4 separate regions of the Homo sapiens genome follow, and regions 2, 3 and 4 are each linked to region 1. Evidence: promoter capture Hi-C in 16 types of primary human blood cells and fetal thymus (Javierre and others, 2016). All regions are on one chromosome and are shown on one strand. The core of a region is centred on a gene start or on the middle of the fragment in contact, and the rest is flanking DNA. Distances in the headings are between cores, read along the strand shown. Region 1 holds the start of ABRACL (ABRA C-terminal like). Region 2 has its middle 2.8 kb from the start of CITED2. Region 3 has its middle 14 kb from the start of CITED2. Region 4 has its middle 32 kb from the start of TXLNB.

Region 1 (2,556 bases), core at 21-2,520:
AAACTTTATCTGCCATGAGACACTTAGAAGAATCAGACCTTTGTTGAAGATTACAGAACAGAGACTCCTTCAGTCACACCCAGGAGACAGGTATTCACCGTAAAGACTAGAATGAAGCGTGGGAAGTGGATGGATCCAGTGCAGCCCCAGGGAACTGAACACTCACATGCCCCTGGGAAGCAGGTCTTTGTTGCTCTCCTTCCATCACTTGGTCTCAGCTTGTCTTTGACTGGCTTCTACCACTTGTGCCTCCACCCAACCTGCTGCTACATTCTCCTGGTTTCTGCTTACTCAAATGTTTTGCATCCGAAGCCCATTTTGGCCCCTTCTGCCTTACCCTCTCTTAGCTCCAACCTTTCTCTTACATCAGACAGCTCCGTCTCTGCATTCTCCACTTTCCATTTCCAAGGGAGTGTCTGATTGGCTTACTAACTATCAGAGTCCGTGTTTGATGAGAACTGTTTGCTCCAGGTCACCTCACAGGATGATGACTACATCACGGATTGTGCGCTCTTGGGTCACGCGATCACTCTTAATTTAAATTAGCTGGGCTGGGGGTGGGGAGGGGGTAAGGAACGTTTTTTGTAGTTATTTGTGCAACCCCTGCTCTAGAAATAGTTTGGGTAACTGTTTCCTTTCCAAAAGGACTCTCTGGGTACGGTAAGCATCTCTCTCTCACACACGCATATATTAAAATAACAGTGACTAAAACAAAGGGAGCATGAATAAATTGAATTATGAAGTTAAATGTATGAAATAATGAATGAACAAGGGAAGAAACCGATACTGACCCAGGGTCAACAACTATCTATGTCCAAGTAAAATTTCTTTGCAGTCTGACAAATTGGCTTTCAAGATTGCATTTTGTTTTGCGAATTAAGCCATTTTTAAGTCATGAGTCGTAGTTTTCTGGAGGCCCCCGGCATCCGGAACCCATGAATGCCACGTTCTTTCTAGCAGCCTTCAGCAATTTGAGGGCGCTTTGTTTCTTACGTTGGGAGAGAAATCCATCAGGAAATCGACGCCCAGGATCAGATGCAGATCCTGGGATCCTTGGCTCTGAGTAGCACGGTGGAAAAGTGAGGTAATCCAGGCTCTGGGCCCGTTTTCCTAGGAGCCCAGGGCGCTTCACCTGTCTGCAGTCAGCCCCTTTCTTGGACGTCTCCTCCCCTGAGTTTCCTCCTCATAGGCTTGTCCCTGGGAGTGTGGGCGGCCCCTTTCTTGAGCGCAGAAACACTTACTTTTCCCCCTACCCTGCTCCTCCTCCTCCACAGCCGTCTTTCTCTTTGCCTCAGCCACTTCCTTCCTTGGCCTCACCCTCCCCAGTGCACTGAAGAAGGTAACCGGGTCCAGACCCACGCGGCGCCAGTTCTCCGGCGGGAAGGAAAACCGCGCAGAGAGGTGCGTGAGCGCCCGGGCAGATGTGGCTTAGGTAGCAGGGATGGACTGGGTGTCCGTGGTGCGCCGCCGGGCACCGCGGGCTGCGGTGAGAGTCGGGTCAGGAGGGGGCCGGGAGGGGGCTCAGGGCGCGCGGAAGCTGCGACCGGCTGGGCCGAGACCTCGCGGGTTGGGGTCCCGTGGGGCGCGCGCCGCCCACGCCCCCACCTCTCGGGTCGACTTCCGCACTCGGCTCACGTGACGTTTCGCCGGCCGGGGGCGGACTGGGAAGCCGGCAGAAATGGAACGATTTTTACCGCGGTGCGACGTGTCGGCTTTGCACTTGGCGGTGGTTCAGGAGCCAGTTCTGCAGAGCTGGGTGGGGAAGGGCTGGGGGCGAGAGGAGAGGCTGCCCCGAGGAACGTGGTGGCCTCAGGGCAGTGGACTCTGCAGCGCCGGAGGTGGGTGCGGCTCTGTGCGCTCCAGATCAGGGGGTGCAGAGTCGTGAGGGGACACCAGGGGCTCGTGGAGCCCGGGGCAGGGTCCGTTTTCGTCGCCCGGGTTGGGTGCTCGCTCTCGCGGCGCTTCGGGGCGCCCGGGCCACGGGGGAGGCAGACCCGCGGCGCCGGGCCGGGAGCTGCGGAGACAAAGACTTCCGGGACGCGGCCCTTCCCGGGCGCCAGCGGTGCCGCCCCGCCACGGGGGGCCCAGCCCCGCGCTCCCCAGCCCTGCACTGGTGCCGGCGGTGACCGTGTGATGATGGGCTGCAGGGCACGGGGTTAGGGGACCTCTACCAGGCAGAACCCCAAGCTGGTAGCAGAATGGCCAAATATGGAGTGAGCGCGCCCCAGACCGGAGGGAGTAAGGAGCCCAGTCACCCTTTGACCCGCACCAGCTGCTTGTCCGCGATTGCGAAGAAGGGCTGGGAAAACGTGCCCAGCCCGAGTGTGTAAAGTTGGTTCCTGATTCCGGACATACCTATTCCAGTAGGCTTTATTTCCTTGGATATTAGAAAATCTCCATGCATTGCCTCCAAACTTTTGAAAAATAACAATGCCCTGAGGGTCCTTAAATACATTCTAAAGTGTGTATTGGTGGTGAGTTTCGGGTTCTGCCCAGTCCTCCGACTTTCCGCTTCCTTTGTGTTTCCCACGCACAAAGCCGAAATCGATTCTGCGA
Region 2 (2,556 bases), core at 21-2,520, 350 kb after region 1:
AGACTTTTAAAGGCCCTGTTTCTTGAGGACTGGAAATTCTGATACATTTCCCCGTTCAGGAATTTGCAAAAGAGACCCAATCCTGATTATTTTCGTCTATGACCCCTCTGTCTTTTCCTAGTCAGGCATATTTTTGTAAATGTTGTTACTTTGTGTCTTGTCTTCTTTCCTCTTCCAGGCTCTCCGGCAAACCGTGCAGGCAAATAATTTTTAAACCTCAAAAATATTTACTTTTTAGAGATACGGGCACATGACACATTGCATTGTTAGTTGCAACAATTCCCTATTCTCCTAACCTCCCACCACCTTTACCTGTAGGTCAGGACATGCAGTTTACCGTATCAGAGGCTTGGATACCTGAAGGGGCCACTTCCTATAAAAAAACAGATTCTAAAATATTGGTAAAACCCAACCTGAAAAATCGCGGGATTGTTTACTTTCCCTTCTTTGTACTGCAAGTGTCTTTCGACACAAGAAACAGCTTTTGAATGTCTAATCTAAATTCCTCTTGCAACCACTAAGGAAAGGTGGAGCTCCATCCAGCTCCAGTGGTTCTACCTACTATTGGGAAATCCCTGGAAAGGTCACCTGCCCATCCCCCATCCCTTAAAGGAGAACAAAATAGTTCTGGGACCAGCTGGTTGGAACATGGCATGCTTTGTTCATTTATTCTCATCCGTCCACTGAATGTCCTCCAAGTGCCAAGTGCTTTCTTGGTGCCTGGAGATACAAACAAGATAGGAACTCATGGTCACAGGGAGAAAACTGACAAACAGGCCTTGAACACACTGTGATAAATGCCACAAAGGCATTGAAGGAAAGGGCTTTGGAGAGCACATAGGAGGGACACCTACCCCCCTCCTGGGTGCTTTGGGAAGGCTTTCCGGTGGAGATGGTGACTAAGTGGAGGCCTCAGGATGAATGGAAGTTTGGTCCCATTAGGAGTGGGGTAGAAAATGTATGGCTAGGGAGTGAATGCAAAGATGAGAGAAATAAGGTTGGAGAAATATGCTGGGGCCGGATGCCAAGGGCATTGTGGCCTCAAGCTGAGAAATTTTGCTGTATCCCAAAGACATTGGGAGGCAGGTAAAAGCTTGTGAAGCCATGAGATAGGAAAGATTTGGATTTTAGAAAGATCAGGGCAGTACTGTGGAGAATGGTTAGAGAAAGTAAGACAGGAAACAGGGAGTCCAGTTAGGGGGCACTTACAGTAACCCAGGGCTCCCAGAAGTTCCGTATAACCAGGGTTTATCCCGTGAACCTGGGTGAGCGAGCAAGTGATCTGTCTGTGGCCCTCACAGCACTGAATGGTTGTATTCATTTCCCAGAGCTGCCATAACACAGTACTATTTAGGTTGGTGCAAAAGTAATTGTGATTTTTGCCATTGAAAGCAATGGCGAAAACTGTAATTACTTTTGCACCAGTCTAATACAAACTTAAGGCTGATCAAGCTTTAAACAACAAAACATTATTGTCTCACAGTTCTGGAGGCTAGAGGTACAAGGCCAAGTTGTTGGCAGGGTTGGTTCTGAAGACCGTGAGAGAGAATCTATTCCGTGTCTCTTTCCTGGCTTTTGGTGGTTTCCCGGCAATCTTTGGTGTCCCTTGACTTGTAGATGCATCACACTGATCCCCACCTTCATCTTCATGTGACGTTTTCCACCCCCCGCCCCCCTGTATGTGTATCTCTGTGTCCAAAGTTCCCCTTTTGACAAGGACTCTAGTCCTTTTGGATTAGGGCTTCTCCTACTGGCCTCATGTTAACTTGATCACCTCTATAAGCTCCTGACTCCAAAGAAGGTCATATTCTGGAGGTTAGAACTCCAACATATCTCCAAGATATTTTTGCGGGGACACAATTTGACTAATAACAGTGGTAAATAAACTGAGTAATACAAGACCCCTGCTGCTGACAAAGAAAGTTGCCACCTGGAACTGTCTTCCCAGACGTCCTACTGGCCCATATTCTCATTTCTTCATGTCTCTGCTCAAATATCACCTCAACAAACTCTCCCTGACTGTCCTACCCAAATAGCAATATCTCTCTTGTTTCCTTGCCCTGCTTTATGTTTCATCTTAGAGTATCTTCCTACCTGACATGCTGCATGGTAAATTGACAGTTTACTGCCTTCCCCATTAGAATGACAGCTCCATGAGAGCAGAGACCTAGCCTGGTTGTTCATTCACTGTCTGAAACAAGTCCTGGCAGGTATTAGACTTTTACTAATTGAAGGGTGAATGCATGAATAAAATATGGCATTGGCACTATGGGAACCCCAATGAGGGGCCAAGGAAGACTTTCTGGAGAAGGTCACTCTCAAGGCTGGAGGTAGGCCAGGTGCAGTGGCTCACACCTGTAGTCCCAGAACTTTGGGAGGTTGAAGTGGGAGGATCACTTGAGCCCAGGAATTCGAGACCAACCTGGGCAACATCTTGAGATCCTGTCTCAACAAAATAAAATTAGAAAATGAGCTGGGTGTGGAGGTGCATACCTGTAGTCCTAGATACTGGGGAGGCCGAAGCGGGGGGATTGCTTGAGCCCAGGAGTTCGAGAT
Region 3 (2,556 bases), core at 28-2,527, 330 kb after region 1:
TTCACACGGCTGGAAGTATGGCTAACAGCAGTTTACAGGCTCATAGTTTCATCACTAAAGAGGACTTAAAACTTGATCTCTCTGTTGTCAAGTTAAAAGCTCCTGGGGGAGGGGGAGGAATGCAAATTAAAACCACAGTGCAATACCACCTTACTCCTTCAAGAATGGCCATTATTAAAAAGTCAAAAGCAACAGATATTGCTATGGATATGGGGAAAAAGGAACTTTTATGCAGTGCTGATGGGAATGTAAATTAGTACAACCTCTATGGAAAACAGTATGGAGATTCCTTAAAGAACTAAAAGTAGATCTACCATTTGATCCAGCAACCCTACTACTGAGTATCTACCCAGAGGAAAAAAAGTCATTACATGAAAATAATCTTTGCACGTGCATGTTTATAGCAGCCCAATTCACAATTGCAAAGATGTGGAACTAGCCTAAGTGCCCTTTGACTAATGAGTGGATAAAGCAAATGTGGTATATATACACCATGGAATACTACTCAGCCATTAAAAGGAATGAAATAATGTCTTTGCAGCAACTTGGATGAAGCTGGAGGCCATTATTCTAAGTGAAGTAACTTGGGAGTGGAAAACCAAAAACCATGTGTTCTCATTGATAAGTGGAAGCTGAGCTGTGAGTACGCAAAGGCATACAGAGTGATATATTGGACTATAGGTACTCAGAACAGGAAAGGTGGAAGGGGGGTTAGGGATAAAAAACTACACATTAGGTACAACGTACACTACATGGGTGATGGGAGCACTAAAATCTCAATTCACTGCTACATAATTCATCTGTGCAACAAAAAACTATTTGTGCCCCCAAAATTACTAAAATGAAGAAGAAAGGAAGAAAGCTAACTCCTGTGGGAAGGTTTCTGTTGGGTCAGTGTTATCCACAGACCAATTAGCTGCAGCCAGAGGGTAAGATGAAAGTGTGATGAATGTTTCAACTGGGCCCATCTGGGCACCCCTAGCCATTCACTGTGCCCAGGGCACATAGGATTATGGGAATTTTCACATGGACGTATGTAACTAAAGTGAAAAAGTGGCATTTTGTGGAAGGGTAGGACAAGCAATGAGTAGACAGAACAGAAGATGTTCACGGCCATATATTAGAGTTTTCTTATCTTCCGTGTTTGAATCTTGTCAGGCTGTTTTTATATTCTTTTTGGCTTTGTCATACGGACCAGTGCATTTATTATGGAAATAGATTATATAGCTATCAGTAATTTGTTCATAAATATTAGATTCTGTTCATTTTGCACAGAGATTAATCACCTGCCAAAATGTACATGATTTTCTTGGTGCAGAAAAATTACTTATTAGTCATATTAACAAGGGAATATCAAACATATTTTGAAGGGCTAGAAATGAAGACATAATGACCATATACTTCTTTTTAATAGAATATTTATTTATATTAACAAATGTTGCTTTATAGAAGACATTTCAACCTTAATCAAGTAAACCCTCTCTGAGTGATTTATGATATAATTTTGTTAGCTATATATGTCTTTATTATATGAAGAAGATTTGGAAAAAAAAAAAACTTTAAAAAGAGTCCCTGTCAATTACAGCTTAAAATCTATGCCTTGAAACAGAAATTTTAGAAAAGGTCTGCTTCGCTGTTAACTCTTCTGGTGATGGAGTTGTCAGTTTAATATCCATTTCACACCGAGGTGATTAAGTCAATTGTGATAATTCCACCCCATGGTAAAACCAATCCCAGTGGTTGGTTGGTTCAGAAATTGGTCCATGACATGATACATGAAGAAAAGGATGGTTCTGGAGAAAGTTTTCTTTTCCCTACTTGTCACGTGAGCTCTGCTCATGCCACCTGTCACCGGTCCACGGTGCGGCCAACACTGACGACAGCCCAGGAGAGAGATGAGAGAAGCCTGAGTCTTTGTGGACATTATTGATCAGTGAATTAATCAACCCTGAAGCCTGCCCTTGCCTTCTTGACTTTTGACAGATAATAAATGTATTTCTCATGGTTTAAGCCAGAATCAGGATTTCTATTATTTGCAGCTAAAAATTTCTTAATAGATATGATTGCAAAGTAGAAGAGAGAAACTTATTATCAAATAATTGTAATACTGTGTACGTAATCCATACAAACAGAGGTATTTATAAGGTATAGGGGTGCTGCAAAGTAGGGAGGTATATGAGGAAGTTTCTCAGAGAAGAAGATACTTAAGGTGGGTATTGAAGGACATTTCAGCAAAGGAATGAAGATGAGGAAGTGCCTTTTGGGCAGAGGGAGCAGCATGTGCAAAAGCACAGAGTAATAAAATAGATATTCTCAAAATCCCTCAAGTTAGACAAATTACAAAAGGCATAGACACATCTTACAGGAACTGTGGGTATGGTGGGTGCTAATCAGGAAACCAGGAAGTTGCCCGGGACAGATGTGTCTTCCCTCTCCATCTATCTTGATTTAGCACCAGATGGTCTCTTACTATTGCTTTGTTCAGGCAATGTGTTCCACTCTCCCGCTGACTTCTGCAAACCAGTTTCTCTGCTCTTCAGTATGAGTGCATGGCTT
Region 4 (2,556 bases), core at 57-2,556, 300 kb after region 1:
ACTGCACATTTTCTGTACATTTTACTTATTTGCTGTGTTTATTCTTTGTCTCCTCCTCTTGCCTGTATGTTGCATGGGGGCAGGCATTTTCGCTGGGTTTTCCCTGCTGTTGAATCCCCCATAAACAGATGCTAATTGAATAGTGGCTTCCCCAGGACAGAGGCCCATGGGGCTATCAATTTTCTAAATGTCCATTTCCCTAAATCCCTTTATCTCTTTTGGATCTGTCCTCATTTTAAAATAAGAAACTAGCATTTCTGTGAACTGACTAGGAATAATTTCAATTGTCATTTCAGTAAGAAGTTTCATTTTGGACCAGTGACTATGATTATCCTTCCTTAAATACATAGGAAATCATTTTGTTGGTGTTGACATTGCACGAGATGAAGAAGGGATGGGGCTCAGTGTGTGGTTTGGGCTCTTTTGTTTGCAAGAAACCTCTAGAGATGTATTATAGTGACCCCAAGAAAAAGAATTTGTTTAGTTTTTTTTTTTTTTTTTTGAAACGGAGTCTCGCTCTGTCGCCTAGGCTGGAGTGCAATGGCATGATCAAGGCTCACTGCAATCTCCGCCTCCCGAGTTCAAGCAATTCTCCTGCCTCAGCCTCCCGAGTAACTGGGACTACAGGTGCGTGCCACCACGCCCAGCTAATTTTTTGTATTTTTAGTAGAGACGGGGGTTTCACAGTATTAGCCAGGATGGTCTCGATCTCCTGACCTCGTGATCCGCCCGCCTCGGCCTCCCAGAGTGCTGGGATTACAGGCGTGAGCCACCGCGCCCAGGCTTGTTTAGTTTTTTTATTTACTTATATAATAATAAAGAAACATGTGGACCTGGGCTGGGGACAAGCAGGAAAGTCACCAAGAATCACGAGGCACGTGGTTTCTCTCTGTACATCTGCTGCATTGTCTTCTCTAGGCTTACTTACCAACTTCCGCTGCTTACTCATAATTTCTGTTTCCTCTTCGTTTTTCCGGGGCCCTAGTTTACCTCCGGGCTTCCGTTGGCATCAGCTTCCATTCCCCTACATCTGATGGCTCGGCCCCTGTTTCTCAAAATTAGGCAGCTGTGGTTTACAACAGGGGACAGTCAACAGATTGCTCCAGTCAGTGCTCATCCCCGTCCTTTCTGCTGTGGTCAGGGTTTGGAAAGGGTCCCATAAAGCAAAACACGCCCCCAGAAGCTTTGCGCAGGGAAGGTAGATAGGAGTCACGCCCCTCCCCCATTGTCATCGCCATAGAAACAGGTTCCTGTTTATTCAGATGACTGTCTGTTTAACTGTTTCAACTCCACTTTGACTTGGAAAAGTGTTCTGGGATACTGACATTGTTTTATGATTCCCATCTTTGACTACCTTATTCTAGCACCAAATGTTAAACATGCAGCCCATTAATGCTTGAGCTTAGCTTTGTTTTCAGAATCTTCTGCCGGAAGCTTCTAGCTTCCTTCCAAGCTCTGGGGACAGAGAGGAGCCTCCTCTTTTGTGGAGTGTATTCAATGTGTGTGTATATATATATACATACATATATATTTTTTTCATTTAATTTTTTTTTTTAACTGTGACTAGTTCAGGATGACATTTTACAAAATCCCCCCGTTTTTTTTTTTTTTTTTTTTGGTCTGTTATTGTTTCTGGAAAGGAAAGTTTTATTTCCTTGTTTATTCTGTGTCTTCTCCTCTCTCCTGTATGTTGCATGGGGGCAGGAATTTTTGTTAGTTTTTTCTCCCTGTTCAATCTCCCATAAACAGCTGCTGATTGAACAGTGGCTTTCCCAGGACAAGGGCCCGTGGGACTACATTCAATGGTTTTAACTTGAATGCAGAATAATTTTTTTTAAGAGATTACCTTTTATTTCATTTTTTATTTATTTATTTTTTGGGGGGGACGGAGTCTTGCTCTGTCACCCAGGCTCGAGTGCAGTGGCACCACCTTGGCTCACTGCAAGCTCCGCCTCCTGGGTTCATGCCATTCTCCTGCCTCAGCCTCCCAAGTAGCTGGGACTACAGGCACGTGCCACCACGCCTGGCTAATTTTTTGTATTTTTAGTAGAGACGGGGTTTCACCATGTTAGCTAGGATGGTCTCAATCTCCTGACCTCGTGATCCTCCCACCTCGGCCTCCCAAAGTGCTGGGATTACAGGCGTGAGCCACTGCACCTGGACAGATTTTATTTTTTAAAAAAATCTTTAGTTCAAATGTATGCCAATACTTTTAAAAGCCAGGTAATATTAAGAGACTGTTGTTCTCAATCACCTGGCATACAGAAAGTTCTGGAATATTCATATTCCCATTATACAGCTGAACCACTGCTGGAGTCTTGTCTTTTGCTGCCATAAAGAAACAGATATGGAGTAATATGTGGTTAAGAGCAGAGCTCCACTAATTTGATATCTGACTATTAGTCACATGTCATTTTGATTCTGAACATCATCTGTGACTAGAAGATAAAATTAGTTCCTTTTTTTCTATGTTTTTATGATACTGTGTTTGGTTCCTAATGTTCTGAAAAATGCTAATGTGTGTTTTTCATAGAGCAACCTAAAATATATTTCCTT

Evidence for each region. The method cuts DNA at HindIII sites, captures the fragments that hold promoters and counts their contacts. A CHiCAGO score of 5 or more calls a contact.
Region 2: a contact is called between a fragment that was not itself captured here and the fragment with the promoter of ABRACL in region 1, in 8 of 17 cell types (fetal thymus, non-activated CD4 T cells, total B cells and 5 more). The highest score is 10.1, in fetal thymus.
Region 3: a fragment that was not itself captured here is called in contact with the fragment with the promoter of ABRACL in region 1 in 10 of 17 cell types (fetal thymus, non-activated CD4 T cells, naive CD8 T cells and 7 more); the score reaches 12.8 in fetal thymus.
Region 4: a fragment that was not itself captured here is called in contact with the fragment with the promoter of ABRACL in region 1 in 3 of 17 cell types (fetal thymus, naive CD4 T cells and total B cells); the score reaches 7.5 in fetal thymus.

What each region holds. Positions count from the first base shown.
Region 1 is chr6:139,027,475-139,030,030 of GRCh38, forward strand. It overlaps ABRACL (ABRA C-terminal like), which reads left to right and starts at 1,271. Exons shown (of 3, transcript NM_021243.3): 1 at 1,271-1,401. RefSeq lists silencers at 1,435-1,594, 1,855-2,224, 2,274-2,464 and enhancers at 2,118-2,412, 2,235-2,556. The HindIII fragment of the contact is 5,437 bases long and covers 1-2,556 here.
Region 2 is chr6:139,376,219-139,378,774 of GRCh38, forward strand. No RefSeq gene overlaps it. Among named protein-coding and RNA genes, the nearest start is that of CITED2, 2.8 kb to the left of the region's middle. RefSeq lists a silencer at 534-828. The HindIII fragment of the contact is 359 bases long and covers 1,092-1,450 here.
Region 3 is chr6:139,358,964-139,361,519 of GRCh38, forward strand. No RefSeq gene overlaps it. Among named protein-coding and RNA genes, the nearest start is that of CITED2, 14 kb to the right of the region's middle. The HindIII fragment of the contact is 9,947 bases long and covers 1-2,556 here.
Region 4 is chr6:139,322,799-139,325,354 of GRCh38, forward strand. It overlaps a transcript of TXLNB not described here. Among named protein-coding and RNA genes, the nearest start is that of TXLNB, 32 kb to the left of the region's middle. The HindIII fragment of the contact is 251 bases long and covers 1,182-1,432 here.